Linked DNA regions of Homo sapiens: region 1 is linked to region 2. The links are contacts of gene promoters, found by promoter capture Hi-C in human tissues and cell types (Jung and others, 2019). All regions are on one chromosome and are shown on one strand. The core of a region is centred on a gene start or on the middle of the fragment in contact, and the rest is flanking DNA. Distances in the headings are between cores, read along the strand shown. Region 1 overlaps CD86 (CD86 molecule). Region 2 holds the start of FBXO40 (F-box protein 40).

Region 1 (4,738 bases), core at 302-2,801, 480 kb before region 2:
AACAGTTGCAGGGGGTTGCTGACCACGGCTTTTTTTTTTTTCACATGTCAAGTCATATCGCAACCCCCTTGCCCCATCTTGTTTGTGTGACAGGCCAGCAGTCAGCCAATCAAAATTCCTCTGACTCCCACATATGTCATCAGAGCCAAGGGTGGAGTGGGGCCAACCGTGATGGTGGTCAACAGTGTTGTCCTTGGCTGACCAGAGGCCGAGCCCAGTGGAGAAGATCAGTTCCTTGTGTTTGGTGAGGAGGAAGTTGCTGAGGTTACTTCAGAAACTGCTTTCTGTGTGGGGCTGCTTCCTCCACTGCCTCATTCTCCAACGCTCTCAGGACTGAAGAGGCCAAGGCTGCAAGTAGAAGCAACCAGAGGAGGACAGGCTACACACAGTAGCTGGTGTGTGTGGGTGTGGAAGTTGACCTCACCAAACTTCACCAGAGAGAGTCCCCTGAGGACCACACAGTCAGGATCTACTCCATGTGCCAGAGCCAGAAACCCGTGGGAGTCTAGAAACATCTGAACATTTAGCTGAGTTTTCCAATTTCAGCCATCTGTTTGTTGTTATATGGAAGTGGCCTCCTGCGGCCAGTGGTCAAGTCTAAAAGCACTCTAGGAGGCGGTGCTGATGGTAGTTCTAATACAGAATAGTTTCCACAAATAATTAGAGCAGCATTATTTATTGAAACGTTAATTAGTGTTTGTTTTCTAAGCTTTCTTGATGCAAGGGGGAAAGCAGAAGAGATACAAGTTCAAAGGTTCATCCAGACTTTTGTGAAAGCCCATGGAAGAGATGATACCGGTGGCTTAGAGGTGAAAAGAGAGGAAGAGAGTGCTTTTGAAGTGCAAGAAGAAGGGAGGGCAGGGGATGGTTGTCTGGGTCCTGTGAGCAGTAGAAACCCAACTGCCCCTCCATCAGTGCTCCCGAGGGGGTAGCAACCTCAGGTGTGATGGCTCATGCCTAGAAAGGCAGCATGCTTTGCTCATGGGGCCCAGCATCAGTAGATATTCTCATTCCCCACTGTGGCATGGGGGCAGGGAGCTGCCGGACTTCACAGACCACTATGGGCTCAGATAGTAAGGGTGCCAATGGCAACCAGGACAGACTAGGGACTTGAGGCCCTTCCATCATTTTCCAGTTACCAGGTGAACTTCTTGAATTCTGACTGGGCTGCAGGAAAGGAAGGAGACTCCTGCATGACCCAGTTACAGTCTCTTTTTCAACTGGCAGGATTGAGGCTCACCAGTGGGATTAAGTTGAGTTAAAGGAAATTTTCAAAGTGATGATTTCATATATACTTGGATTCATGGACAGAAATTCATATCCTATGCATAATATAATCTATGTGAGAAGGGCCAGGATTTCACCGTAAACACAGTTCCTGAATTATTCTTAATTTAGAAGTGATGCAGCTCAGGACTGGGTTGTCTTCTTACTCCCAGCCCTGCTGCACAATTGCCAATAAAGGAGGATTGTCAACCACAGCCCCCAGGACTTGACACTCCCCTTTAATTAAACCCTGCTGGGTCCATAGTTCCCTGACATCACCTGAGAGTGAACATAAGACATTTGCAATAAATTTTTATTTTTACTGCTACTGTAAATTGTATTTTTAAAACCCTTCCTCCTTAAAGCAGAAACATGTATCAACCATTATATGAATAAAAAGACACGCCAAAGATTGGGGAAAAAATATTTGCAAAAGATATATCTGATAAAGGGCTGGTATCCAAAATACACAATGAACTCTTATAACTCAAAGATAAAAGAACAAACAGCCCAATTTAATAAGGAGCAAAAGATCTGAACATATACCTCACCAAAGAAGGTACACGGACAGCAAATAAGCATATGAAAAGGTGGTCAGCATCATACCTCATTAGAGAATTGCAAATTAAAACAGTAAGATACCACTACACATCTAGTAGAATGGCTAAAATCCAAAAATCTGACAATACCAAATGCTGCTGAGGATGTGGAGCAATGAGGCTTCCTGTTGCTCCACATCCTCAGCAGCATTTGGTATTGTCAGATTTTTGGATTTTACCCATTCTAGTAGATGTATAGTGACAGAGCCCTCAGAAATAAGGCCGCATATCTACAACTATCTGATCTTTGACAAACCTGAGAAAAACAAGCAATGGGGAAAGGATTCCCTGTTTAATAAATGGTGCTGGGAAAACTGGCTAGCCATATGCAGAAAGCTGAAACTGGATCCCTTCCTTACACCTTATACAAAAATCAATTCAAGATGGATTAAAGACTTAAACATTAGACCTAAAACCATAAAAACCCTAGAAGAAAACCTAGACATTACCATTCAGGACATAGGCATGGGCAAGGACTTCATGTCTAAAACACCAAAAGCAATGGCAACCAAAGCCAAAATTGACAAATGGGATCTAATTAAACTAAAGAGCTTCTGCACAGCAAAAGAAAATACCATCAGAGTGAACAGGCAACCTACAAAATGGGAAAAAATTTTTGCAACCTACTCATCTGACAAAGGGCTAATATCCAGAATCTACAATGAACTCAAACAAATTTACAAGAAAAAAACAAACAACCCCATCAAAAAGTGGGCAAGGGATATGAACAGACACTTCTCAAAAGAAGACATTTATGCAGCCAAAAGACACATGAAAAAATGCTCACCATCACTGGCCATCAGACAAATGCAAATCAAAACCACAATGAGATACCATCTCACACCAGTTAGAATGGCAATCATTAAAAAGTCAGGAAACAACAGGTGCTGGAGAGAATGTGGAGAAATAGGAACACTTTTACACTGTTGGTGGGACTGTAAACTAGTTCAACCATTGTGGAAGTCAGTGTGGCGATTCCTCAGGGATCTAGAACTAGAAATACCATTTGACCCAGCCATCCCATTACTGGGTATATACCCAAAGGACTATAAATCATGCTGCTATAAAGACACATGCACACGTATGTTTATTGTGGCACTATTCACAATAGCAAAGACTTGGAACCAACCCAAATGTCCAACAATGATAGACTGGATTAAGAAAATATGGCACATATACACCATGGAATACTATGCAGCCATAAAAAATGATGAGTTCATGTCCTTTGTAGGGACATGGATGAAATTGGAAATCATCATTCTCAGTAAACTACCGCAAGGACAAAAAACCAAACACCGCATGTTCTCACTCATAGATAGGAGTTGAACAATGAGAACACATGGACACAGGAAGGGGAACATCACACTCTGGGGACTGTTGTGGGGTGGGGGGAGGGGGGAGGGATAGCATTAGGAGATTTACCTCCTAATGCTAAATGATGAGTTAATGGGTGCAGCACACCAACATGGCACATGTATACATATGTAACTAACCTGCACATTGTGCACACATACCCTAAAACTTAAAGTATAATAAAAAAAAAATAAAGAAAAGAATGCAAAATGGTAAAACTACTTTGGGATATAGTTTAGCAGTTTCTTAAAAAAGTAAATATACTCTTACCATATGATCCAGCAGTCACACTTCTAGGTATATTTACTCAATTGAATTGAAGACTTATGTCCACACAAAACCTACACGTGAATATGTATAGCCACTTTATTCATAATTAGCAACTAAGATGCCCCTCAGTTGGTAAAGCTGTGGTATATCCAGACAATGGAATATTATGTGGTAATAAATAGAAATGAGCCATCAAGATGTGAAAAGACATGGAGAAAACTTAAATTCATATTGCTTAATGAAAGAAGTCAATCTGAAAAGGGTACATACTGTATGATTCCAAAGATAGAACATTCTGGAAAAGGCAAAACTGTGGAGACAGTAAAAAGATCAGTGGTTTCCAGGGGTTGGGGAGGGGTGGGAAGGGTCAACAGGCAGAGCACAGGGGATTCTTAGGGCAGTGAAGCTATTCTGTATGATACTATAATGGTGGATACATGACATTGTGTATTTGTCAAAATCCATAGAACTGTACAACCCAAAGAGAGAAACTTAATGTAAATTATGGGCTTTAAATAATAATAATAATGAAGCAACAATGGCTTGATCGTAAGAAATACATCACACTAATGCAAGATGGTAAAAATAGGGGAAATTGTGTTCCACAAAGGGAGTAGATGGGAATTCTCGTACTATGTGCTCAATTTTTTGAAAATCTAAAACTGTTCTAAAAATAAGTAAAGTCTGTTAATTAAAAAAAAACACACATGCTAACCACATACACGGATTTCTGGTAAAGTAACTAAATTAATAATGTGACATTTTAGAGGGCTGCTAGACTAGTGGGAAAGAAAATTAGCATCAATTTCACAGTCCACATGTTCACTTCCCTATGTTGCACCCTTGGAATCAATGCTATACATAGAACGTTGCTGCAAAAAGTCTCCTTTTGTATTTCTGCCTTTTATTTTGACACTTTCTGCATTTTTCTGGTGCAGAACCCTAGACTTTTATGTCAATTCCTTAGGTAAATTAAAGAAAAGGCCCCAGTTTTCTAAGGGCCAGATCAATTTTTAAAAATAGCTTTCAGTTCCATGTTTCTGAAGGAACATTCTTAGAAATGTAATGAGTTTCTTGTTTCTTTGAGGGGCGATACAATTTTAACTTGTACTTTAAAAGCAAATTTTACATAGTTAAGCATTAGAAGTTGAGTATTTTTCTTTGTGTGAGCCAAAATTTTGCATTTATACCATACCAGTGAGTTACCGAGGTGGGGTAGGATGGACCCTCACTCTCATAACCTCTAACAT
Region 2 (4,718 bases), core at 1,062-3,561:
CAATCACTTTGCTGAGGCTAATTCCCACATTGGGTTCCATAATCCTTGGCTTCGACGCTGCGATTCCAGTACCTTCACTGTATCCTAAAACAGAACCACCCTCTCCCAGATCCATTCCACTTCACAATCTGAAGTTTTCCACCTATACTAGAAATCTCTCTAACTTTATACTTATTAGTTATTGAATTAGCTAGTTAATTCTTATATCTGGTGCTTTTGTATCAGTACTATTCTATTAAATTACAGTTGCATTGGCCAAGATAGTGCTAAAGTAACTGGATTATCTAGGGGTAGCTGGGACTCAATCTGTCTGCTTGGTTACTTGTAAGCCAACACACCCTAGTTTCACCAGGACAGCATCCCAGCATACACCTTGGAGACCTTGGTGCTGTGGAGGCCCTGGAAAAATTAAATGAAGTTAGGTGATTATACACAGTGAATTTGCTTGTGCCCAGGAAACAGGCATAATGATAACCCAGACACCTATAGCAGAGTCTTGGGGTACATATGGAGGTTACAGAGACAGGCAGGAAGGAACCAGGAGTTAAGGTATCTGAATAGTTAGTTTAGGTCTCCTTTTACTTGGCATCGGTGGCTTTAGCCTGTACACATCAAAGGTCAGAGTGTACAGAATCCCTTTTGCTGCATAGGCCACTTCCCAGGATGTCCTTAGCTGAACTTTGAACCAGTGAAAAACAAGAAAATAAACACTGCTCCCTTACCTTGCCAATTTTTAGTGCATGCAACACTATACAGTTATTCCAGAAGCGAGAAACTATCTGTCTAAAGTTATAACTTTTGATACCTCAAGTATCATTAGTCATTTTACTTTTATCCCTCTGAATATGCAAAATTGTTCAAGCTTGTAACAATCTTTGGTTTTGGTGCATAAGCCTATATAAGTTTTTCAACTTGAGAAATATTTCACTTATATTTCATGGATGCATTTTGGACTCAAGAGAGCTGGGGAGAAGAGGGCCACACTTAGAGAATATTGTTGGCGAAAAAAAGGTGTTAAACTCTGCGGAGTTTGAATAGTATATACAGAAAATACAGTTGTGCTTATTAACCAGTAGTATGACACAGCAGACGAAATTTTAAGCTACATGAGAATGACTTGCAAGCAAACATAGCAAATGTTGACTGGAGAAAAGATCACAGCATTTAGACTTTAGAAAACAGAAATTCTGATCAGGCACAGCGGCTCATGCTTGTATTCTCAGCACTTTGGGAGGCCGAAGCGGGTGGATCACTTGAGGCCAGGAGTTCAAGACCAGCCTGGCCAACATGGTGAAACCCCATCTCTACTAAAAATACAAAAATTAGCCAGGCGTGGTGGCACAGGCCTGTAGTCCCAGCTACTCAGGAGGCTGAAGCAGGAGGCTCTCTTGAACCTAGAAGGTGGAGGTTGCAGTGAGCTGAGACTGCACCACTGCACTCCAGCCTGGGCAACAGAGTGAGACTCTGTCTCAAAAAAATAATAACAATGAATTAAATAAATAAATAAATAATAGAAATTCTGGGCCAGGCACAGTGGCTCAGACCTGTAATCCCAGCGCTTTTGGAGGCTGAGGTGGGCGGATCATTTGAGGCCAGGAGTTCAAGACCAGCCTAGCCATCAAGGTGAAACTCTGTCTCTACTAAAAAAATACAAAAATTGGCCGGATGTGGTGGCATGTGCCTGTAGTCTCAGCTACTCGGAAGGCTGAGGCAGGAGAATCACTAGAACCTGGGAGGTAGGGGCTGCAGTGAGCCAAGATGGTGCCACTGCACTCCAGCCTGGGTGACAGAGCAAGACTGTCTCAAAAAAGAAAGAAAAGGGAATAGAAATCCTGGATTCTAGGCCTTCCACTTGTTTCCTCACCACCTCCTCCACTTCCCCAGATCCCCCCACCCATCACCATGTTGTAACTTTACAGATATCATAACTACTCTTGTTGATTATAGAAGAAAGAACCTAAGCTGTCAGAAAGCAAGTACTCTACCTGCTCTTGAAATGGAAACAGAAATTTACACACGGCTGGATCTCATTCTCAGTGCCAGCCTTTCCCCCACATCTTTACATAACTAATTTGCTTAACAATCCTCTTCCACAGGACACAAAAGTGATATGCGGCTCAGCTTCATCTGCATATTCACCACTGAATGTCCTCGTCATGGTGCACCTGCTCCTGTTTGAATACTTACCTTAATGGAACAGGCTGAGTCAGCATCTGCTTGCACCTGAACCCTTGATTGCAAGTAAGCGGATTGCCGGGAGGTGGCTGGGTTGCATCAGCTGCAGTAGAGGACAGCGTTCTGTTGGGAAGGCAGGGAAAGGAGAGAAAACTTCAACAGAAATAGTCCAAGTGTTGCGAAGTTAAAAATAAAACGATATCACAAGGGGCAATGTGACCAGGCTCAGCTTACGACTTTTTCCTTCCCCTGTATTTATCAACACTCAGTCTCTACTGGAGTGGCATTTAGCAGGGGAAACTGAATGGGAAGTGAAGTTTTATATCAATAGGTTTTCTTTCCCTTGAGGAAGGAGGAAAATCCTTTTAAGAAGGATCATTTTCAAGGCCAGAACAGCCTCTCAGATTCCTGCATGTGCAGTCGGCAGGCCCAGCTGTGCTGAAGGAGGCTGGCACAGCCTTCAGGACTGGCTGCTGCTCTAATTATAACCATGCTCCTCACCTAAACCCATCACTGGCTGAAGCAGCAACTTGTGCAAATGACATGGTGTCCTGCTTCAGTTTCTCCTATCTCTTGTCGTGACAAGTAAGTGTCTGTCCTCCCCTGGTCCTTTCATCTTTCCTGGAAAAGGGAGAGTTTGTAATTCAGATACCAGGTGTAGAGTAAATCCAGTGTGAGAGAATTAGAGGTTGTAGGAGGCTTTAGCTGTCATTTAGTCCAGCTCCCTCTTTTTACAGATGAGGAGACAGAGATTCAGAAAAGGGAAATTGCTCATCCAAGGTCACACATCTCGTTAGTGGAAGAGCCAGAGGAAAGCCCCAGAGAGCTTGTTTAACTCTCAGTCTAGCGTTCTTTATCTTATCATCTTCAGATAAACTCATTCAGGATCTTGTGAGTGAAAAAAATATAGAATCCCGGCTTTGGTGTTTTCTTTTTCTTTTTTTTTTTTTTGAGACAGAGTCTCGCTCTGTTGCCCAGGATAGAGTGCAGTGGCGTGATCTCGGCTCACTGCAACCTCCACCTCCTGGCTTCAAGTGATTCTCCTGCCTCAGCCTCCTGAGTATCTGGGATTACAGGCACGTACCACCATACCTGGCTAATTTTTGTATTTTTAGCAGAGACGGGGTTTCACCATGTTTGTCACGCTGGTCTCGAAATCCTGACCTCATGATCCTCCCACCTCAGCCTCCCAAAGTGCTGGGATTAGGTATGTGATTTTGACAAATTTACTTAACCATTTTCTATTTCAGTTTTCCCCATTGTGAAATGGCGATGATACTTGGTGCGACCACAGGTAACTGTGTCAGTACACATAAGGCACATGAATGATATGTACCACATGCCAAGTGCTCCACAATGCCAGCTGTTATTTGAATGTATTTGAATGTATTTTGACTAACAGCAGATGTGCTAAATTTGGCTGTGATTAACAGCCATCGAATTAACCTTTCCCCTGGATTCTTCATACATATATGTCCTTGGAGGTAAACTTATTTGGAATGAGCAAATAGCAGTTGAAAATTGTAAAAAATTTCTACACTGATCTTGTATCTTGAAACTTTGCTGAACTGGTTTATTAGTTCTAATAGTTTTCTTGTGGATTCCTTAGGATTTTCAAGACCATGCCATCTGTTAACAAAAATATTTTAACTTCTTTCTTTGCGATTTGGATGCCTTTAACTTCCTTTTCTTGCTGTTTTTCCCTGCCTAGAACTTCCAGCACTATGTTTAACAAGAGTGGTGAGAGTGGCCACACTTCACTTGTTCCTGATCTTAGGGGGGAAGCATTCAGTCTTCCACCAATAAGTACAATGTTACCTGTGGATTTTTGTAGATGGCCTTTATCAAGTTGAAGGAGAGGAGTTTGATAGTTTGTTCTAGTTTGTTGAGTGAATCAAGAAAGAGTGTGGATCTTCATCAAATGCTTTTTCTGTGCCCAGCAAGATGATCATGTGGTTTTTGTCCTTTATTCTATTAATATCGTGTATTACATTGATGAATTTTTTTATGTTGAATCAATCTTCCATTCCTGAATAAACCCTACTTGGTCATGGTATCTATCCTTTTTATATGTTGCTAAATTTAGTTTGTTAGTATTTTATTGAGAATTTGTTTTTTCAAGTCAGATGCATAATGTGCCAATGTTGAAACAAGCTTCGAGGGTAGCACTCACACATCCACGTGAATGCCCAATCATCACATTCATGAACTACAAAAGGATCTTATTGAGGATTTTTGCGTCTATATTCAGAAGAGGTATTACAGGTTGAGTATCCCCAATCTGAAATCTGAATTCCAAAATGCTTTAAAATCCAAAATTATTTGAGTGCTGATGTGACACCACAAGAGGAAAGTTCCACACTTGGCCTCATATGGTGGGTCATAGTCAAAACGCACTCGAAACTTTGTTTCATCCACAGAGTTACTTAAAATATTGTGCAATTACCTTCAGGCTATGTATATAAGGTGTATATGAAACATAAATGAGTTGTGTTTAGGCTGGTGTCCCATCCCCAAGATATCTCATTATGTATGTGCAAATA

The links. The method cuts DNA at HindIII sites, captures the fragments that hold promoters and counts their contacts. A contact is called where the count stands out against the background at its distance.
Region 1: a contact is called between a fragment that was not itself captured here and the fragment with the promoter of FBXO40 in region 2, in 3 of the 25 tissues and cell types used here (liver, lymphoblastoid cells and thymus).

What each region holds. Positions count from the first base shown.
Region 1 is chr3:122,070,400-122,075,137 of GRCh38, reverse strand. All of the region lies in intron 1 of CD86 (CD86 molecule), which reads right to left. Among named protein-coding and RNA genes, the nearest start is that of CD86, 17 kb to the right of the region's middle. RefSeq lists an enhancer at 103-442. The HindIII fragment of the contact is 6,239 bases long and covers 1-4,670 here.
Region 2 is chr3:121,590,972-121,595,689 of GRCh38, reverse strand. It overlaps FBXO40 (F-box protein 40), which reads right to left and starts at 2,311. Exons shown (of 4, transcript NM_016298.4): 1 at 2,188-2,311. LOC124906360 (small nucleolar RNA U13) reads right to left here and starts at 4,396; the gene lies at 4,296-4,396. RefSeq lists enhancers at 1,639-2,290, 2,291-2,941, 1,755-2,954 and a silencer at 2,074-2,368. The HindIII fragment of the contact is 12,396 bases long and covers 1-4,718 here.